Linked DNA regions of Homo sapiens: region 1 is linked to region 2. Evidence: promoter capture Hi-C in 16 types of primary human blood cells and fetal thymus (Javierre and others, 2016). All regions are on one chromosome and are shown on one strand. Each heading gives the region's core, a stretch centred on a gene start or on the middle of the fragment in contact. The rest is flanking DNA. Distances are from core to core; before and after follow the strand shown. Region 1 overlaps DPYSL3 (dihydropyrimidinase like 3). Region 2 holds the start of DPYSL3 (dihydropyrimidinase like 3).

Evidence for each region. The method cuts DNA at HindIII sites, captures the fragments that hold promoters and counts their contacts. A CHiCAGO score of 5 or more calls a contact.
Region 1: a fragment that was not itself captured here is called in contact with the fragment with the promoter of DPYSL3 in region 2 in 1 of 17 cell types (endothelial precursors); the score reaches 5.7 in endothelial precursors.

The regions. Positions count from the first base shown.
Region 1 is chr5:147,455,516-147,459,847 of GRCh38, reverse strand. All of the region lies in intron 1 of DPYSL3 (dihydropyrimidinase like 3), which reads left to right. Among named protein-coding and RNA genes, the nearest start is that of DPYSL3, 52 kb to the left of the region's middle. RefSeq lists an enhancer at 3,400-3,901. The HindIII fragment of the contact is 3,697 bases long and covers 191-3,887 here.
Region 2 is chr5:147,507,968-147,511,810 of GRCh38, reverse strand. It overlaps DPYSL3 (dihydropyrimidinase like 3), which reads left to right and starts at 1,743. Exons shown (of 14, transcript NM_001197294.2): 1 at 1,743-2,333. The coding sequence starts at 1,953. The HindIII fragment of the contact is 1,835 bases long and covers 1,460-3,294 here.

The DNA of each region.
Region 1 (4,332 bases), core at 790-3,289, 52 kb after region 2:
TGAGCCACAGCACCCGGCCTCTCGCAACCTGATCTTCTAACTCTAGCCTTTGGCTTTGATATGAGTTGCCATCAGAGCTGGATGGAGCAGGTCAGAATCCTTCAAACTCAATGACTACTGAAGAAAAGAATGAGAAACTCTGTCTAGAGAGACGTAGGATTGCATACCTTTGCTTAAGCTAGTGTAAGCTTGATTTTGGAATCAGCCAGTGGGAATACTTTTCTGTGGCTGTAATTTTTTTTTTTTTGGTTTATGTGTATCCGAGGTTAGTTTGTTTACCAGTTTATTTCTGTATTCAATGTGTAGACATCTAATAATAGCAGGTGAATCATCTCTTTGGTTTTCATTCTGTAACACTGGAGTTACATGACTGAGATTTCCTTTGTTTGGTTGTAGGTAAAAATTAATGGACCCAAATGCTTAATTAAGGCAGCTCTAAGATTAAATGTTTATTTATGTAATATAAGAACAGCCTATATATTTCACATAGGCCTAGTATATACATTTTCCCCTTCAAAACTCTTCTATATTTATTTTAGAACTTTTTTTTCTGAATTTTTCAAATCAGGACCAAGGGGCAAATGTTTTCTCATATTAAGACAGCAACATATAAATGTATTTTTAGAAAGTAAAAAATATTTTTAATGGTCAAAACTAGGTAAATGGCTAGGTCCTTATTTTAAATGTTTTGGAGATTAAAGGACAGAGAATATTCTGGACTTTCTCCCCTGCCTGTTCAGTCAATCTCCCCCTTTTCCCATTGATGCGACTCCACTCCAAGCACTGTAAAAGAGCTGGGGGCTATAAAGATAAATAAGACATAGTTCCTGGCATAAATAAGTTTAGCAAAAAAAAAAAAAAAATCAAAATATTAAAAATAGTGTTAGGAGTAGCTGCCATTTAATTAACTTGACTTAAGAGCTTTATGAGAATAATCTTATTTAATCTTCAGTATGTTCACTGTCCTTTATTCCCCTATACACTGTGTTCTCCCTGCTCTCTTAAGGAGCTTAGATCCCTTGCTTCATCCTCAGTTCCCTTGAGTTTTTCTCTCCCTTCTCAGCACTCATCTTAAAGAGCCCACATTCAATTCCACACCCTACCTGCTCCTTGCCTGCACATATGCTACTGTAAGTGGCTGGAGGAACATCCACAACCAGGCTTACTGGTCTCTCTTTAAATTTATGGTCACCGTTTGAAGGGAATCTTTACTGCTGCTATTACCGGAAAGGGGTCTCGATCCAGACCCTAAGAGAGGGTTCTTGGATCTTGTGCAAGAAAGAATTCAGGGTGAGTCCATAGAGTAATGAAAGCAAGTGTATTAAGAAAGTAAAGGAACAAAAGAATGGCTGCTCCATAAACAGAGCAGCCCCGAGGATCTGCTGGTTGCCTGTTTTTATGATTCTTTCTTGATGATATGCTAAACAAGGGGTGGATTATTCATGCCTCCCCTTTTTAGACCATCTAGGGTAACTTCCGACGTTGCCATGGTATTTGTAAACTGTCATGGCGCTGGTGGGAGTGTAGCAGTGAGGACGACCAAAGGTCACTCTTGTCGCCATCTTGGTTTTGGTGGGATTTAGCCAGCTTCTTTAGTGCAACCTGTTTTATCAGGAAGGTCTTTATGACCTGTATCTTGTGCCGACCTCCTCTCTCATCCTGTGACTTAGAATGCCTTAACCATCTGGGAATGCAGCCCAGTAGGTCTCAGGTCTCGGCCTCATTTTACACAGCTCCTATTCAAGATGGAGTTGCTCTGGTTAACACGCCTCTGACACTGCCAGATAATCATACCATATTTTCCTAGTTCCTTTACTGTCCTGGAAAATGATTTTCATATGAACTCCTCCTCCCTCTCCCAATACCTTCTTTCCTAGATGGTCTTAGCTGATGGCAGAAAAAATAGATGGAGTCAGAAGACAAATTCCATGAAGTCCTTCCCGGAAATATACCCAGCTACTGGACTCTGTGCAAAGATATTCTCCTCTTCAGTGACTGTGGAGGAACCAGTCTTGTTTCTAGCTAAGGGCAAGCCCTCCACTCAAACAATAAATGTCACCTGAGTTGCCTATTCTGGAACTTTCATAGAGCCATTGACCTACTTCTCTCCTGCCTCATAAAGTTTCCTCTCCTGACTGAATCAGCCTCATTGGCATAAAACTAATCAGTGCCCAGGTACCAATTCTACTCTACTGAGCCTTTCTTTGGCCCATATGTTGCTCTGAAATTTTTGGACTGTATCATATTAGCAAAGTGATTCTTCGCCATCTTAATTCATCTGCTCTGAAATCTAGAATCAGGAAACTCTAAAAATGCATAGAGAAGCAAATATAGATACTGTAAAATCTACATTCTAACTACATGCCCTTTAGTTCCAGAAAAGTTCTTCTTCACCTATTTAATCTTTCTCCAGATGCAATTTTAAAAAATTCTTACATTCACTCCCCTAATAATTATTGAGCAATTTCTATGGACAAGGCTCTATTTCAGGCATTCAGTAAATAAACAGACACATCACATACCCTCAAATAGCTTATATTCTGGTGATGGGGAGAATATTCAATAATAAATTAATATGTCATGTGGTAAAAAGTATTATGAAGATAAAGCAGGAAAGGGGGCTAGCAAGTGACAGGTGGTGTAATAAGGATATGCGTTATTATTATATAATAAGAAGAATACGAAGTAAACTCCATGATATTTGGGACTTATTATTCACCTCCATTGCACTAACACTGATAAAAATAATGGCACATAGTAAGCACAAGGTAAATATTGTGTGAATATTTTGAGAATGAATGAATGAATGAATGAATGAATGAGTGATGGTGAGGAAGAGAACCCAGTTAGGAGGTTACAATAATTCAGGTGATAGCCAAATGATGGCTAAACACAGGAAGAAACTTTGCAAATCATGAGAGGAGACCATAGTCTGGATACATTTAAAAGATAGAACTGGCTGGGTGCGGTGGTTCATGCCTGTAATCCCAGCACTTTGGGAGGCTGAGGCAAGCAGATCACATGAGGTCAGGAGTTCGAGACCAGCATGGCCAACATGGTGAAACCCCCTCTCTACTAAAAGTACAAAAATTAGCCAGGTGTGGTGGCAGACACCTGTAATGCCAGCTACTCAGGAGGATGAGGCGGGAGAATTGCTTAAACCTGGGAGGCGGAGGTTGCTGTGAGCCGAGATCACCCCACTGCACTCCAGCCTGGGCAACAAGAGCGAGACTCTGTCTCAAAAAAAAAAAAAAAAAAAAAAAAAATAGAATCAGTAGCATTTGCTGAAAGATTGTCTGTGGAGAGTAGGGGCATGATTGAAGGAGAGAAATCAAGGATGGTGCCAAACCTTTCGCCTGAGCAACTGGAATGGAGTACCCATTGATTTAAGTGTGGAAATCTGTGGTGTGGCAGGTGTGGTAGCCAAAATTAAGTTTCTTTGGGACTGTAAATCAAGTCTATTTCTACATCTTCCTCTCCCTCTTTCAGTTTACTGAGATACCTAAAGCCAAGCACTGCTGTGTATCCAAGGAAAACCATTCAGAGTCATTCTACTGTGGAAAACATCCATACTGGTTCCATTCTTCTCTCTCTTGGCCAGACACAGAGGCATCCTGTGTTGATGGCTGCCTTTCTTATGGCCAAGGAAGGCTTTTTCCTTCAAATTCATCTTAGAGGCTTTATTTTGGTTCAAGAAAGTGAAAGATAATTGAAGGGGATGAAACAAGGAAAATAGTGTTTGTTGTACATTTCTGATGATGGCAACAGCTTGAATCAATTTGCTGTGTTTCTGTGTCTGGCTGGTCACAGCAGCCGGATCCAGAAGAACACATTGCAATTGCCATTCAGCATGGCCTCTTGCATGCAAACCTGACCTCAAAAAAGCTTAACCAAGTCTTGTTATTTGAAACAACACACACACACACACACACACACAATCAAGTGATCAAAAATATGGTATAAATCTATTTAGTAAAGAGTGTTCTGGATTATAATGATGGTAACAGAGGAGATAACTCAGATGTAAGAAAGGCAAAGAAACTTGTAAAATTAAAAAAAAAGGCAGCAGCAGCGGTATTTTTTTTTTAGGATTGTAAATGTCCCCTACATATTTTTGCTTTTCTTGAGAAAAATGTGCAAGATCCTTTCCAGCAAGTTTGGGGCAGTAAAATCTACAGGAAAGATGCAGAGAGAGAGAGCTCTGCTGGTTTCCATAGTATGTAGTTAATTCTCCTTTTACTCTGTTCTAAATATAATCCTGCTCATTTGCATGCCAATCCCCAGAATGCTTTGTAATTTCACAACTCTTGGCTAGTGGTCTCAGCACTTACG
Region 2 (3,843 bases), core at 494-2,993:
AAATTGTGTCAACATACCTGTCTTTGATCTAAGTTCAGGCCAACTTCCATTCCTCAATATTTTGTGGCTGTCACAGACCTGAGACTGACATTCCAGTTTCCGGAGCCTTTGTTCCACTCCAAAATCAGAGTTCAAAGGTTAATTTCATCAAATTCTATGTGGATGCCTTCAAAGAGTATGTCTATGCGCACAAAGAAGCCGGCCATATGCTTATGAGCATTAAATGAGTTAATATATGTGAAACAATTATAATAATGACTGGCACATAGCAATAACTCCATAAACATTTTCTGGTGCTGCTGTCGTTGTTATTGTTATCCTCCATTTGTTCAAAAAGAATGTATCAAGTGCCTGTAGATGTTCTGGGCACAAGATATACAAAGGTGAACTGAACAGACCAGATCTCTGCCTTTATGGAGCTTAGCATGTATGTGTCCATACTTGGGAGGGGGAGTGTTTAGTTCACAAAATAAACAAAGTTCTGTAAGTTGAGCAGAACAGTGAACGGCTGTGCTACCTAGATGGGTGGTAATAGACTACATTCTTGGTGAGGACAGGCCGATCTCTCTTGTTCGACACTGTTGCTCCAGCATCTTGTGAAAGCCATAGTGGGTACCTGATTTATGTTGGTTGACTAAATAAATAAATGGGTGACTTTCTGAGAGGGAGCACAGTTAAATCCGGCACAACAGGTTTTGGGTTTAGGTGGTGTGTGCAGATATGATGTAAGGTATGTAGTTTGCAGGTTCTGTTTATGTGGCAGAGTCGGCGTCAGAGTATACGTGGGTGGACGTGGGGAAGAGAATGAGGTTATGAAAGCACAGATGTACATAAGTAAAGTCTGCATACATCTGAGGTAACATGAAAAGCAAAGTCTTTGGTTGTGTGATTTTTGAAGTAAATCTGGGCTTAGGTGTGAATCTAAGTGTCGGTTCCGACTGAGGTAAACCTGGACTTGTGTCAGTGTGTGAGATTAAAATCTGGGGTTTGTTGTATGAGGGACAGAGCATCAATGAAGAGTGCTTTGCAAGGCAAAACCTAAGAATGTGTGTGTGTGTGTGTGTGTGTGTGTGTGATCTGAAATGAGGCAAATTAGGGGTGGTAAAAAGCAAACTAGGATATTATATAGAAGCTAAGAAAGGGCTTATGTGAGCCAAAGGGCTTTTGTGACTCTCAATGAAGTAAGAGGGCTTCTCTCTCAGTGTGTGTTTGTGTTGTGTGTGTAAGCCAATTCAGGACTTCATGTGAGAGTGTGGGTTTGCAAGGCAGATTCTAGAACTGGGTGTAGTTATGAGTGTCATCCTAAAGATCAGGATGAGGCAAGTCCGGGGTTCCGGGTAGGATTGTGAGTCTGTCGTAAATTTGAGTTTGTATGTGTTAGTTGTAAATCAGGACTTGGCTTTGAGATGAATCCACCTGGGTCAGCTGGGTTTTTGTGCACGAGGGACGTCAGAAAGCTTTGTGTTTGTGAGGCAAACTAGGGAGTTAGTGTGGGTGAAGCAGTCAAGTGCTGGAGTGTGAACATTTCTAAGACGTCTAAATTGCGCGAAAGTGTGTGAGGCAAGGCTGTTGCGCGAGCGGGCAGTGTGCGCCTGTGTGTGCGTGTGCGCGCGCGCCAAGTTTGGTTTGTGATTGTGATGGGCACCGACGCTGCGTCAGCCCGGGAGGCCACGTTAGGGTTGGGGGTGCGTGAGGAGGTGCGGCCGGGCGAGAGGTCCAGCGAGTGAGCCAAGCGCGGCGCTACTCTGGGCCCCTGCTCCGCGCGCTAGCTGGCTGTGTGGCTCGCTGGCTCGCTAGGGACAAGCAGGAATCGGAGCAGCACTGCCGCCTCTGGCGCGAAGGCTCAGGCGCCTCCTCCCGCCACAGTCACTGTGGCTCGGCGCACGCTGCCGGCGGCTGCCCTTTCCGCCTCTGGGGAAGAAAAACCCGCGGGCCGCTTTCGTGCTTGAACCATGGCCTCGGGCCGGAGGGGCTGGGACAGCTCCCACGAAGACGATCTGCCCGTGTACCTGGCCAGGCCGGGCACCACGGACCAGGTCCCGCGGCAGAAATACGGCGGCATGTTCTGCAACGTGGAGGGCGCCTTCGAGAGCAAGACGCTGGATTTCGATGCCCTCAGCGTGGGGCAGCGGGGCGCGAAGACTCCTCGGAGCGGCCAGGGCAGCGACCGAGGATCGGGGAGTCGGCCCGGGATCGAGGGGGACACCCCGCGCAGGGGCCAAGGCCGGGAAGAGAGCAGGGAGCCCGCGCCCGCCTCCCCCGCCCCCGCCGGGGTAGAGATCCGGAGCGCCACCGGCAAAGAGGTGTTGCAGAACCTCGGCCCCAAGGACAAGGTAAGGGGGCCCCGGGTCACTTCCCTCCTTGCCTTCGTTCCTTTCTCCAGCCCTGGCCGCCATGGCCCGGGCACAACTTTCTCCAGCTCACTTTGCACGGGGCTGGGGGACAAGGAGGAGGAAAGGGTCATCCTCCACTGAGCGTAGCGCGACTTCCTAGCCCAGACCCTGGATTCGCGCGTGTCGCCACTTGCAGCATCTTCGTGCAAGCGCGGAAGGGATGCCCGGGTTCCCCTGCCTGGAGCCGCGTCCTTTGCCCCTGCCTCCTCGCCGCACTCCTGGGCCATCCGGTCTGGGTGGGTGTGTCAGCCCGGGAAGGCTTAGTGATTTCCAGCTCTTCTCTCTAGTAGCCAACAGCACAATTGTCTTGCCCCCCTCTGGCCCTAGATTAAATCTCAACCCGGGTCACCACGGCAGAGGGCAAAGTGATGCTGGGAATATGGGGGTCATCTCCATAGTGCCCGGATGAAAGTACTGGAGGGGCGGTCTCCCCTCTCAGTCTTCAAACATCAGCTCTGTCCCTGAAACTTTTGGGTGTGGAGCCTCTAGACTAAACACGCGAATCTCTCTCTATGCCTCGCTTGTGTCTTAGCACGGCATTTCACATCTGTGTTTGTAAAGAGTGTATTTGTGTACATAGCTTGGCACAAGACTGGGTATTACAGGGGTCCAGCTGCCTCTGCAAGAATAGCATTATATTTTAGAAAATAGACGAGAGTATTAAGAGTGCACATTAAACTAGCATGAGATGCAAATTCCCTGCTGCTCTTAAATGTGCCAAAGCCAATTTCTTCTGTATGTGTATTTTTGAGAAACTTATGTCACACTGAACTGACTGAAGGGATGGCATTGAAATCTAGCTTGCCCTGATTTATGTGTCTATTTCACAGAGACTCAGAGATGTAGTTCAGAAAATGCAGGGCCTGGCAGGGCTGGAGACTTCAGAGTTCAAACTGAAGCTTTCAGTTGGGGAATAATAATAATCAGATGCCCTCACCCTTGTCTAGGTAATGGCCGCAAAATCCATCCGCATGTATTATTCTGCACTAATATGGTTAGGAATAACAACCTGAAATGGAAATGTCTGCCTCAGAGCAATTACAGTTAATGCTTATTCAGGTTTTAGTTGTTTTTCCATTAAAATGCAATGAGCTAGTGAAAGAACAGCATCTCTGTTCACTGTTTGATTTTTGAAAGTTTAGACAAACCAACCAACCAACCTTTGACTACTAAGACCACCAGGGAAAATAAGTGCTGAAGTTAGTGCTGTTCAAGGGTACCACTTGGAAAACAATGTCGGCTTCCTCTGAAATCATTCATTTAGTTTGTGATTTTCACATCATCCTTTTAGTGCGTGATTCCCCTAAGCCCTTGCTTACCAACGTTTTAGGGAAAACTTCTGATATTTTGCAAATGTTTTGGTTGATATCTAAACTGAAGAAGAACCCTATAGAAAGGTTATTCCTTTCTTCATGTCTGACTTGTCCATATTGAAATGTTCCCTTCCTGA